Linked DNA regions of Homo sapiens: region 2 is linked to region 1. Evidence: promoter capture Hi-C in human tissues and cell types (Jung and others, 2019). All regions are on one chromosome and are shown on one strand. The core of a region is centred on a gene start or on the middle of the fragment in contact, and the rest is flanking DNA. Distances in the headings are between cores, read along the strand shown. Region 1 holds the start of FAM222A (family with sequence similarity 222 member A). Region 2 overlaps GLTP (glycolipid transfer protein).

What was found. Contacts are between HindIII fragments. The study calls those that stand out against the background at their distance.
Region 2: a fragment that was not itself captured here is called in contact with the fragment with the promoter of FAM222A in region 1 in 2 of the 25 tissues and cell types used here (IMR-90 fibroblasts and neural progenitor cells).

Annotation. Positions count from the first base shown.
Region 1 is chr12:109,710,854-109,716,786 of GRCh38, reverse strand. It overlaps FAM222A (family with sequence similarity 222 member A), which reads right to left and starts at 2,962. Exons shown (of 3, transcript NM_032829.3): 1 at 1,890-2,962. RefSeq lists silencers at 2,822-2,871, 2,902-3,231 and an enhancer at 3,937-4,500. The HindIII fragment of the contact is 9,746 bases long and covers 1-5,933 here.
Region 2 is chr12:109,866,827-109,872,759 of GRCh38, reverse strand. The region is part of intron 1 of GLTP (glycolipid transfer protein); the gene reads left to right. Among named protein-coding and RNA genes, the nearest start is that of GLTP, 11 kb to the left of the region's middle. The HindIII fragment of the contact is 8,954 bases long and covers 1-5,933 here.

The DNA.
Region 1 (5,933 bases), core at 1,713-4,212:
GGGAAGGGAACAGAAGGAATTGCCCAATTCTGACAGCCTTTCCCTCTGCCTTGGCTGTGGAAGTGTAAATACTCGGCAGAGGGCCTCCAACTGCCTGTGTTTGTGAATCTCTGGCGCGCACTCCGAGTTTGTTTCTAAACTGGGAAGCTTCGAGAGGCAGCGCAAACAGCCCTTCTGCCCACCTCTCCCGGCTCTCCCCCAATCTGCTGTTGCTCCTCTGTCCTTGGAAGCTTGTGTGTTTAACGACACCATTTCAGCTGGAAATACCATCTCCCTGCCAAGCCCCCAAAAGCAGCTCCACCGATATTTATTGACCTGTTAATCTAGCTAGAGAGCTTGGTAGAAGAGCAGGGAAAATGCTCGCTGCATAGACTGGGGCCTGGCTTCTCCTAATGACCCGAACACACACTTTCTCTGCTCTTACCCCGCCCCACGCTGCTGAGGCAATGACAGTTTTCGAACCTTTTCCTAGAAATGTGATCACAGCAGTTTCACCAGCACCCGACACTGGCAATAATTGCTGGAAGGGACCTAGACGAATCCCAGAGCCAGCAGCAGGATGCTTGCTGGGGGTTCTCTGGGCCTTTGCAGGGAAGCGTGCCAGTACTGGGGTGTGTGTTGGTTGGGGGTGCCCTGACAGAGACACAGTTTATTCAGACCTTGGCACTGATGGGCCTCACTTGCCCGCCATTCACTTAAGCAGCCTCACAATATGCTCGTTGAAATCCTCTTAAACACCAGAAGGAGCAGGGGGCAATCAGGAGTTCCAGGTTGGCCAAGGCCCCTGACCTTGGGGTAGAACAGCATGGGGAGCCCCTGGACTAGGGGTGCAGCAGGCAGCAGCTCCTCTGCACCTTCCTTGGCTGGGGGAGGGGCACCCACATTTTCCCCAGCAGAAGTAGCCTATTGGAGGGCCGGAGGCCCACATCTCTCTGGGGACCCTGGGAACTTCAGCCTGCCAGCTGGGTACATGGTGGGGTTCAGGGAGGTCTCTTCTATAGCATCTCTTTTCAAAACAGAAAGTTGCTCTGTCTGGGAGGCCTGAGCCCCGAGGCACAGGCCAGGCTACATGGGCAAAGCTCTGAACACCTGTCCTTGCGGGGAGGAGCATCAACAGGGACAGCTGGCACTGCCTCCCTCCCCCACCTTATGGGGCGCTAAGGATTTAGGTCAGAGGACTGCAATGGTAGGGGTGGGGGGAGTCCGCCTTCACCCCTCCACTACCCAAAGGCATCCAGCCCCGCCCCTTGTTACCACGACCCCGCCCCCTCCGGCCTTGGGTCAAGGCAAGTGGTGTTGCCACGGCAACCCCAGTGACATCAGAGGCTAAGGTTTGACGTCATGTCGTGCCCCCACTGGGGAACCTACCGTCCCTGCGAGTTATTTGTGGGAACGTGGTTTGAACGAGGGCTCTAAGGTCTAGCCCCATGGGGCACAATTCTCAAACGTGGCCACCTGCGTTTCTGGAACCCCAAATCCCCCTCTGAGGTGATTTCCCTTGAAGATCTCAGAGGCTGCTCGGGAGACCCTCAACGTTTTCCCATCCTGGGTGCCCCCCACCCCCCAGCCCTTCCAAGACACTGGAGTTCCCGGGGAATTTTCGGATGACACAGCCAATACCTTTGTTAGCTTTACGGGTGGGGTGACCTTTCCTCTCTGGCAACCAACCCGCCCAGGGTCCCGCGGAATCCGAATGGGCCCCCCAACCTCCACTCCCATCGGCTGGCCCATCTGAACAAGTTGTGTTTGGAGGGAGGAAAGGGGCGGACAAGGGTTATCTCTGCTTCAGGACCCCCAACAGCCTAGGACCCCTTCTGTCCAATCCTGGCTGCCCGGACGCCAGGGGGTGCCCCCAGCTCCAGCGCAGAACCCCGCCCCGCACAACTCACCGGATCAGCCAGGCCGTCGAAGGGCACCAGGTCTCAGCTACCACGACGCTCCGCTCGACGGGTCGCAGCCATGCAGGAGTGGCAGAGGCTGCCTGACGAAGCCCTCCTTGGGGGTCGATGCCTCTCTCCGGGTGGGAAGGGGCGCTGTCGGTGAGGGCTATCCTGGCGCCGGCCTGCGCCGTCCGAAGTCGGGGGGGAGGGGAGGTCTCCGTTCAGCAGGGGTCACGCCCGCCCCGGACGGGGGCCGCGCGGGCGCTCAGGCGACGCATCTTCGCCGGGGCCCGTGATCGCCACGTCCGGCGGGCGGCGCTGCGCCTCCCCTCGGGGCCCCGCTCAAGGCTGCAGCTCGGCCCGCGCCGCTCCCAGGGCGCCCTCTCCGCCCGCGCTGGGAGCCCGGCGGCCGCGGCCCCTTTCGCCAGCCCCAGCTGCAGCCTGTCTTTGTTGCTTCCTCTCGCTCGCCCGCCCGCCCGCGGCTTGCAGCCCCCGGGTTCGCCCCGAGGTGGAGGGATTGTCTCCTTCGGGGGTTGCACGCACCCGCAGCGGCCCCGGCTCCTCGCCGGACATACACCGGCCCCTGCAGGTTGCAAAGAACAGCGGCGAGAATGCACCGGCCCCTCCTCCTCCTGCTCTGAGCCCCGGGTGTGGGGGGAGGGGAAGCCGGCGAACAGCGGCGGCGGCAGCGGCGGCGGCGGCGGCAGCGGGCGACGCAAGCTCGGATGCAGCCTCGGGGGCCTCGGCGCTGAGAAACAGCCGATCCCAGTGGCGCAGGACGGACACGAGGACGGCCCGGGGGACTGTGCACCGGGTGTGCGAGCTCGCAAGCCGCAGCAGGGGCCGCGCGCGCTGGGCTCTCACGCGCCCATGGCCCCGGGCGGCGCGCGGGGGCTCCCGGGGCCGCAGCCTCGCGCCGTCTGGCGCGCGCCGGCGCCTCGCCTGGTCTCAGGCCCGGGTGCCGCGCGCCGCGCCCCACAGGCGCCGGGCCCGGCTGTCCGCCTCCCCCGGCCGGCGCGCGCAGCCTCTCCGCGGAGCAGCCGGCCAGGCAGTCCTGCCCGCTGCTCCGCTCTGGCCCGACTGACAGGCGCGAGCGCCGGCAGCAGCCCCCGCGTCTCGTCCCCCGCCCGCCCCCCGCGGCCCAGCCCAATCAGCGGCGGCTGAGAGGCGGTTACCAGGGTGACGCGGCACCGCGTCCTGCGAGGGGCGGAGCCGGGGGCCGCCACGCGCGCTTTTCGCGGCAAAATTCAAAGGCCGGCAGGGCGGCTCTCCAACCTCCTCCCCCAAGCAGGGACGAGGCGGAACTTGCCTCGCGAGGACTGCAACTCCCGGCATGCTGCGCGCCGGCGCCGGGTGGAGGGGCCCCGACTGGGGGCGCAGGGCGTGCTGGTTTTTGTAGTCCCACTAGGGGTGGCAAAACCAGTGTCATTTACTGATCACATATTTGGGACAAGGCACTGTATAAGTGCATTATCGGCATTATTTCATTTAATCTTGGCAAAAACCAACCTCATGAGGAATTTGTTAAAAATAACAACTATAGCTAACACTTATGTAGCAAAGTATTTTATCTAATCCTCACAACACCGTGTGAGTGGGTATTACTATCACCCCCATTTTACAGATGAGAAAACTGATACGGTAGGTACTATTATTATACTTCCAACTTACAGAGGAAACTGAGGTAAGGAGATGTGAAGTGACATGGTCCTGGATGTTTTTGTCCTAAGGCTTATTTTTGGCAGCGATGTGTTTTTGGCATCACAGTTGTGATCTGTGGAGCGCTAACTATATAACCCAGCACAGCGCTGAGCAATTTGCAAGCTACACCTTCTAGACGTACCCCACGCCCACAGGAGACAGGCACTAGCCTACTCCCCCACTTAATAGATAGGGAAACTGAGGCATAGTTTCACATCAACCTGGGGTTCAAATATGAATCTATCAAACTATACTGTGCTTTCCCTTTTACTTTTAAAGAAGCTTCCTGGGTTCTCACAGCCCATGGGCGGCCCGTCTAGCAGTCTCATTTACAGATGGGGAAATTGAGTCCTGGGTGGGGCAGTTCCCTCAGTTGCTGTGTGTCCATCACACAGCACTGTAGGAAGCCAGCTTTCCGGGATAATAACAAAGATCCCCACAGAAATGCAGAGCAGCAGTCAGACCCCCCACCCCTCAGGCTATGCCCGTGTGATACCTGGAGTCCCACCGAAACTGGGTGGGATTGCAGCCCTGCCCTTGCTGGTTGTTGGTCTTGGCCATTTACCTTCACGGGTCTGCGCCTCAGTTTCTTGTCTGTGAAATGGGGGGCATCATAATTCCTACCTTACAGCGTAGATTTGAGGGCAAAATGAATTCTTGCATGTAAAGGACTCAAAACACACATTAAGTGCTCAATAAATGCCCTCTGTACTCACCCGGGCTGGAGGGCTTTGGAGACCCTGGGGAGCGTATCCAGCGGACGGGCTGATTATAGACGGGCCCTAGCCTACTTCCAGGAGCCAACCCACCCCGCCGGGAGAGGCGCCCGCGGCGGACCTCCAGGGCCGGCCCAAGTGGGTCACCCGCCGCCTTATCTAGGACAGGAGCTGGCCCTGTTTCAGGCCTCTAAGCGGCTGCTCGGCGCGCTGTTCCCAGCAGCTCCGCTCTATTTCTCCGCGGCCGCCCCCATCTCCTCCCCTTCCCTCCCCAGGCTGAAGGTGGGGGTGGGGATTTACCTGGAAATGTGTTATGCCTCCAGCTGCTTCCCGCTCGGGCCAGCAGCCAGGGCTGCGGGGACGTCAGGGAGGGCGGCCGGGGCGACTGGATGGGTGGACCCAGCGTGTGGACAGGTGGGGAGACCAGACTTCAGCTGAGGACAGGGCGAGGGACAGTAACAAGCAAACCCTGGGAAATGAGAGAGATCGCGAAGAGGAGAAGAAGGCAGCAGTTCGCACCACAGCCTGTCAAAAGTTTGGGATTTTTTTCATTGTAGGTCACCATGACTTCACACCTACTGTGTGTCAGGCATGGGCTCACTGCTATTTATCTCACATAACTCCTTTTACCCTCGCAGAAACCCTATAAGGTATATACGATCACTATGCACATCCTACAGCAGAGGAAGGCCACATGACTTACCCAAGGTCACACAAATGACAGAACCAAAGTCCAGAGCCCTGACGTTGATTTATTGCACCTTGTGGCAGCCACTGTCTGACCGTGTGCAACCTTGAGGGGAGTTTCTTCTCTTCTCTGGACCTCAGTTTCCCCTGCCATGAAATGGAGGGTAGGACCCAAACCCCAGCCCTACCAATCAGACTCTCCTTGGTGGGACAGCAGTTTCCAAAGCTCCTATGTGGTTCCTGATACAGCCAGGGCTGACAACCCCAGGTCGAGAAGATCTCAAAAGACCCCTCCATCTCTGAAGTTCTATGAGTCCACGATGTGCTCATGGTGGAATTTCCGACAGCAGCAGGCTCCAAGGCAGCTGTCCAGCAGGAGAGGTCAGAGCCTTCCAGATGCCTGTCGCTCCCCTCCAGGCAGGTGAATGCCCCGTAAGATGCTCTGCCCCACTCCCCACACTCCCAGTGCCCCCCTACCCCATATGCCCATCTCCCTGAGATCAGACCCTCGTGCCTTTGCTCTTGGTCGACTCCAATAACTGCATTATGTGATTGGAGACAGTGTCAAGATGGATTTGCCACGGTCCATAAAACCACCAGGCAGGCCAGCCCCGGAACACTGGCTCTGGCCAGGGGTCCGACAGGCCCTGAGGGGGCAGGGGGCAGAGGGCATCTCATCTCTCACTGTTCTTGTTTGCCTCCCACACACCAACCTTGCTGAAATACCTACAAATCCTTGCACGTGCCTCTCTCACCTCCAGGTCATTGCTTATGCTGTTCCTTCTACCTAGAATGCCCTCCCTCCAGGTAGCTAACTCTTGCTCCTCCTTCAGAGTTCAGCCAAAGTGCTGCCTCCTCCAGGAAGCCTTCCCTGACTACCCTGCTCCAGGCTGGAGCACTTCCCCCTTCACAGATGTGTCCAGTGTGTGTTATAATGGCCCACTTCTTT
Region 2 (5,933 bases), core at 1,777-4,276, 160 kb before region 1:
TAATGTCTTGTTGGAGGAAGAAGCCAGAGAGACACTTTCTGCAATGGCTGTACAATTTTGAAACTGCTGGCAGACTTCGGAGATGCATTTGCAAGTAGTAAGTGAGGCTTTTTTAGCCTTCAGGAACACCTGCTGTGTGCTGGTGCCGTGCTGGTGGGTCCCACTCTTGATCCCACCTGGCCAGAGAACAATCTGGAAGGAGGGCTATGGAGGGCCCTATTGTGTTTTTCTGTCCATGTGTGTAACAGCCCATGAGTCGGCTGTTTTTGAGGCTCAGAGGGGAGAAGTCACTTTGAGTCTGATTCTCTTCCTCTGACATCCATGCCCTGAACACCGTGGACAGATGAGTGGAAGGAAACACGGAGACTGGCATCCATCTGAGCCAGCCTGAGCTTGAGAGGCCCCGAGGTGGCTTCTTTTTGGCAGCTCCGTTTCCCAACAGCTGTGTGGCAAAAGGCCCACTTCCTAAAGGTCTAGGGCCATCCATCCTACCTTTGGAAAGATGTGGTGAGTCCAGGCAGGAGCACCAAAATCAATGCCTGACTTGGTGAATGACTGCCAGGGCACAGAGCCAGCTGCATGGCTGCTTAAGTCTGACAATTGCTCCAGCAGCCTCCTTTATAATGTCCAAAGGCCAGAGTACATACAGACCAGTGGCACCCGCCCACCCGGTCCTGGGATGGTGGTGATTAGATCTTTGTGTTCAGAAAAATCTGGCCCTTGAGGTCAGAGCCTGAGGTTTGGCCTCTCTGCTGCCAGAAGGACGAGGATTGAGTAGGAGGGGAGAGACTACAGTTGCTTGCTAACTCATCTTGCCCCTCCTCTGCTGCACAGGGATGCTTGGAGGGACAGCCCTCCACTGTGAATCCCTTGGGGCAGAAGTCAGGCCCTCCCAGGACCCACCAATGGGCTTCTGCAGCATGGGCGCCCAGCCTATATCCACGTGAAAAGGAATGGGAGGAATTCATGACAAAGGGCTTTATAAAATATAACGTATGACCGTGATCATAACTAGCATCATCTCTATTTTGAGTGGCTCCCAGGATATGCCATTGAATTAGGCAGTAACTCATTTCTAATCCTCATGATGAACTTAGGAGGAATTTGGCACCATTTTCCAGAAGAGGAAACCAATGTGCAGGGAGGTGAAGCGATTTGATCAGGTCATGAAGGTAGGAAGTGGTCCACAGGACTTTACAGCAGGTCTAGCCCTGTAACAGGGGAGACCAACACCACATCAGGAAACAGGAAGACGTTGGAAGTCGTCTCTAGGGCAGAAATGTCCCTTGTAGGGGAGGAGGGGAAATGATAGGAAGTTCCCGGCTGGCATGACAATGTGATTATTTCAATGAGCTTCTTAGAATGGAAATATTGGGGCCGGGCGCAGTGGCTCATGCCTGTAATCCCAACACTTTGGGGGGCCGAAGCGGGTAGATCACGAGGTCAGGAGTTTGAGACCAGCCTGGCCAACATGGTAAAACCCTGTCTCTACTAAAAATACAAAAAAAAATTGGCCAGGTGTGGTGGCGCAATCCTGTAATCCCAGCTACTCTGAAGGCTGAGGCAGGAGAATCGCTTGACCCAGGAGGCGGAGGTTACAGTGAGTCGAGATCACGCCACTACTCCAGCCTGGGACAGAGCGAGAGTCCGTCTCAGAAAAAAAAAAAAAAAAAAAAAAGAATGGAAATGTTGGGTCCTAGTCTTAGGTTTCATTGTTTCAGTAAAAACCTGCCAGAGTGAATGTTAACTCCTTTTATTACGTACTTACAGTGGTACTTATATGGAGGCCTTTTTTGTGGTTCTTGCTAGAGTGTTAACTGTATCTGAGCTTTTCAAAGTCATTGCAGTGGATCAGCCCTCTCCAGGGTCTTCTAGAAGCCTCTGCTTTCCACCCTGGCAGTTAGGCAGTCGACTCACACTTCCCCTGTGTTCAGAAATGATTCATTTTCTGCCTTGCTGTTCCTCCAAGTTCCTTACTTCACTCCCTTCTGAGATCTCTGTCTTAATGGTCTGGAATACATTTGAAGTCATTATTTTATGATGGGGAGATTTCTGCTAATTTTACCCCTAACAATCAATCAATGAGTCAATAATTCTTTTTCTCCCTCCTCCCTTCCTTCCTCTCCTTCTGCTTTGATTTCTTAATCATTGGAATAATTGTTTTCTGGATTTCCTCTCTAAAGAAAAGCTTTGTCTGTTGGGAAAGGTGATGATGATATAATTTATAATAATAAGCATAAATGATAATACCTTCTTTTTATTTTATTTTATTTTATTTTATTTTATTTTTGAGACAGAGTCTTGCTCTGTCACCAAGGCTGGAGTGCAGTGGCATGATCTCGGCTCACTGCAACCTCCACCCTCCCCCTAGGTTCAAGCAATTATCTTACCTCAGCCTCCCAAGTAGCTGGAATTATAGGCACACACCACCACACCCAGTTAATTTTTGTATTTTTAGTAGAGATGGGGTTTCACCATGTTGGCCAGGCTGGTCTTGAACTCCTGACCTCAGGTGATTTGTCCGCTACAGCCTCCCAAAGTGCTGGGATTACAGGCCTGAGCCATGGTGCCCAGCCTAATACCTTCTTTTTCACTGAGCACTTACTAGGTACCAGAAACTGTGCTTAGGCCTTTATTTATACAACTTTATTTAAGCCTCACAGCAACCCTTTGAAGAAGGGTCCATTATGAGCCTCATTTTAAAAATGAGGAAACTTGCCGAGTGCGGTGGCTCATGCCTGTAACCCCAGCACTTTGGGAGGCCCAGGCAGGCAGATCTCTTGAGGTCAGAAGTTCGAGATATGGTGAAACCTTGTCTCTTTTAAAAATACAAAAATTAGCCAGGCATGGTGGCACAAGCTACTCAGGAGGCTGAGGCAGGAGAATGGTGCGAACCTGGGAGGTGGAGGTTGCAGTGAGCCGAGATCGCGCCACTGCACTCCAGCCTGGGCAACAGAGTGAGAGTCTCAAAATAATGATAATAGTTTTCCCAGTTGAGTGTGGTGGCTCACACCTGTAATCCCAGCACTTTGGGAGGCCGAGGCAGGCGGATCACAAGGTCAGGAGATCAAGACCATCCTGGCCAACATGGTGAAACCCTGTCTCTACTAAAATACAAAAAAACAAAAAAAAAAAAATTAGCTGGGTGTGGTGGTGCTTGCCTATAGTCTCAGATACTCGGGAGGCTGAGGCTGGGGAATCGCTTGAACCTGGAAGTTGGAGATTGCAGTGAGCCGAGATCAGGCCACTGCACTCCAGCCTGGCGACAGAGTGAGACTCCGTCTCAAAAAAAAAAAAAAAAAAGAATTTTCCCAACTGCATCATTCTTAGTTCAAGACTGTTTTTTCCTGAACCGGGAGCAATTATAGGACAAATAGTTGGCATGTCATGAGGGTGAAGTTTTTCTTTTTTTCTTTCTCTTTCTTTCTTTCTTTCTTTCTTTTTTTTTTTTTTTTTGAGGTAGAGCCTTACTCTGTCGCCCAGGCTGGATTGCAGTGGCGCAATCAATCTTGGCTCACTGCAACCTCCCCATCCTGGGTTCAAGTGATTCTCCTGCCTCAGCCTCCTGAGAAACTTGGATTACAGACGTGCACCACCATGCCCGACTCATTTTTGTATTTTTAGTAGAAACGGGTTCACACTATGTTGGCCAGGCTAATTTTGAACTCCTGGCCTCAAGTGATCCACCCGCCTTGGCCTCCCAAAGTGCTGGGATTACAGGAGTAAGCCACTGTGCCTGGCCCGGGGGTGAAGTTTTTAAAGAAGTATTTTGAATTGTTTTGTAAACATTCTTTCCTCTTTAGGTAGTAGACTCAGAGCAGGAACCTGTTTTAGAAATGTAGGTAATCTCAAGGCTCGTATCCTTAAAAATAGGCCTTATAGTAAGCAGAGCCATGACAACCCGCACCCCCAGATTAATAAATGATTCATCTCCATCAGCTGTAATTTGAGTGTCTTCCATTATGATCCTTGTAACCCAAGACCTATAAAGTTAATCTGCCTCATGTGTTTAACAACTGAACTTTATTATCCAGCTATGAAAAAAACCATTGAATTTGCAATAGAACCTCCCCACACCAGGCTTGTAGCATCACGACACGGGCATCCTGTTCTTCCTTTCTGGAAATGACTGTTTATGAATTGGGTTAGGTGTGTTCTGTCCTGAATCACACAGGCTGAAAGTGAAGCAAGCTGTGCATCTTTAAGAGTCCTTTTTTTTCCCTGAACATTGTTCTTGAGATGAAACGAGAGGGTAGGCCAGGGCAGGGCAATTTGGTCACCTTGTTACTCAATGTCAGGAACATCCCATGTTGTAAGAGATGGCTGTTTGAAGAGGCAGGCATGGAGGGGCAGCTTGGATGGCAACTTCCAGGTATATGCTGTGGTCTTGCTAAGAGCATAACGACCAGTACTGTCCAACTCTCTTGAGGCCAGAAAAAGAGGAAATGAGGTCGGGTACAGTGGCTCCTGCCTGTAATTCCAGTGCTTTGGGAGGCCAAGGCGGGAGGATCACTTGTGGCTAGGAGTTCAAGACCAGCCTGGGCAACAAAGTGAGTCCCCATCTCTACAAAAAATTAAAAACAAAAAATTAGCTGGTCGTAGTGACATGTGTCTGTAGTCTCAGCTACTCCAGAGACTGAGGCTGGAGGATCACTTGAGCCTCGGAGGTCAAAGCTGCAGTGAGGCCAGGCGCGGTGGCTCACGCCTGTAATCCCAGCACTTTGGGAGGCCAAAGCGGGTGGATCACGAGGTCAGGAGATCGCGACCATCCTGGCTAACACGGTGAAACCCTGTCTCTACTAAAAATACAAAAAATTAGCCAGGCGTGGTGGCGGGCACCTGTAGTCCCAGCTACTCAGGAAGCTGAGGCAGGAGAATGGCGTGAACCCAGAAGGCGGAGCTTGCAGTGAGCTGAGATCGTGTCAGTGCACTCCAGCCTGGGCGACAGAGCGAGACTCCGTCTCAAAAAAAAAAAAAAAAAGAGAAAAGAAAAAGCTGCAGTGAGCTGTGATTGTGCCACTATACCCCATCCTTGGTGATACAATGAGACCCCATCTCAAAAGAAAAAAGAGAAATTAGTGTGATTCTGTGTAGCATATGGTCACTGCTGGCTTACAGGGAATTCTGCTTTCTGGGCAATGTCACCCATCTGAACTGTGGCAGAGATCCAGGCAGGAGGCCCCAGATAGCCCTTGTCTAGTCAGAATTGTCCCAGAGGCCATGCATGAAACCCCTCATTGGTGCATACCTTCTCTTTGCAGGAGATTCTGATTCTGGTGGCTATTTGGTATTTAAGTATCTATAAGAATTTGGCTGGGCACGGTAGCTCACGCCTGTAATTCCAGCACTTTGGGAAGCCGAGGTGGGTGGATCGCTTGAGCTCAGGAGTTTGAGACCACCCTGGGCAACATGGTGAAACCCTGTCTCTACTAAAATACAAAAAATTGGCCTGGCATGGTGGCGTGCGCCTGTAGTCCCAGCTACTCGGGAGGCTGAGGCACGAGAATTGCTTAAGCTCGGGAGGCGGAGGTTGCAGTGAGCCGAGATTGCTCCACTGCACTCCGGCTTGGGCTATAGAGTGAGACTCTGTCTCAAAAAAAAAAGAATAATAAATAATTGAAGCACTGCAGGAAGAAGTAGCTGTCAACCATCAACAGGAGTTTTAAAAAAATACACAAAGTTGGCCAGGTACAGTGGCTCATGCCTGTAATCCTAGCACTTTGGGAGGCCGAGGCTAGAGGATTGCTTGAGCCCAGGAGTTCAAGACCAGCCTGGGCAATGGTATAGTGAGTCCCAGTCTCTACAAAAGGTAAAAAAAAAAAAAAAAAAAAAATTAGCCCAGCATGGTGGTGCACATCTGTAGTCCCAACTACTCTGGAGGCTGAGGTGGGAGGATTGCTTGAGACCAGGAGTTCCAGACTACAATGAGCCAT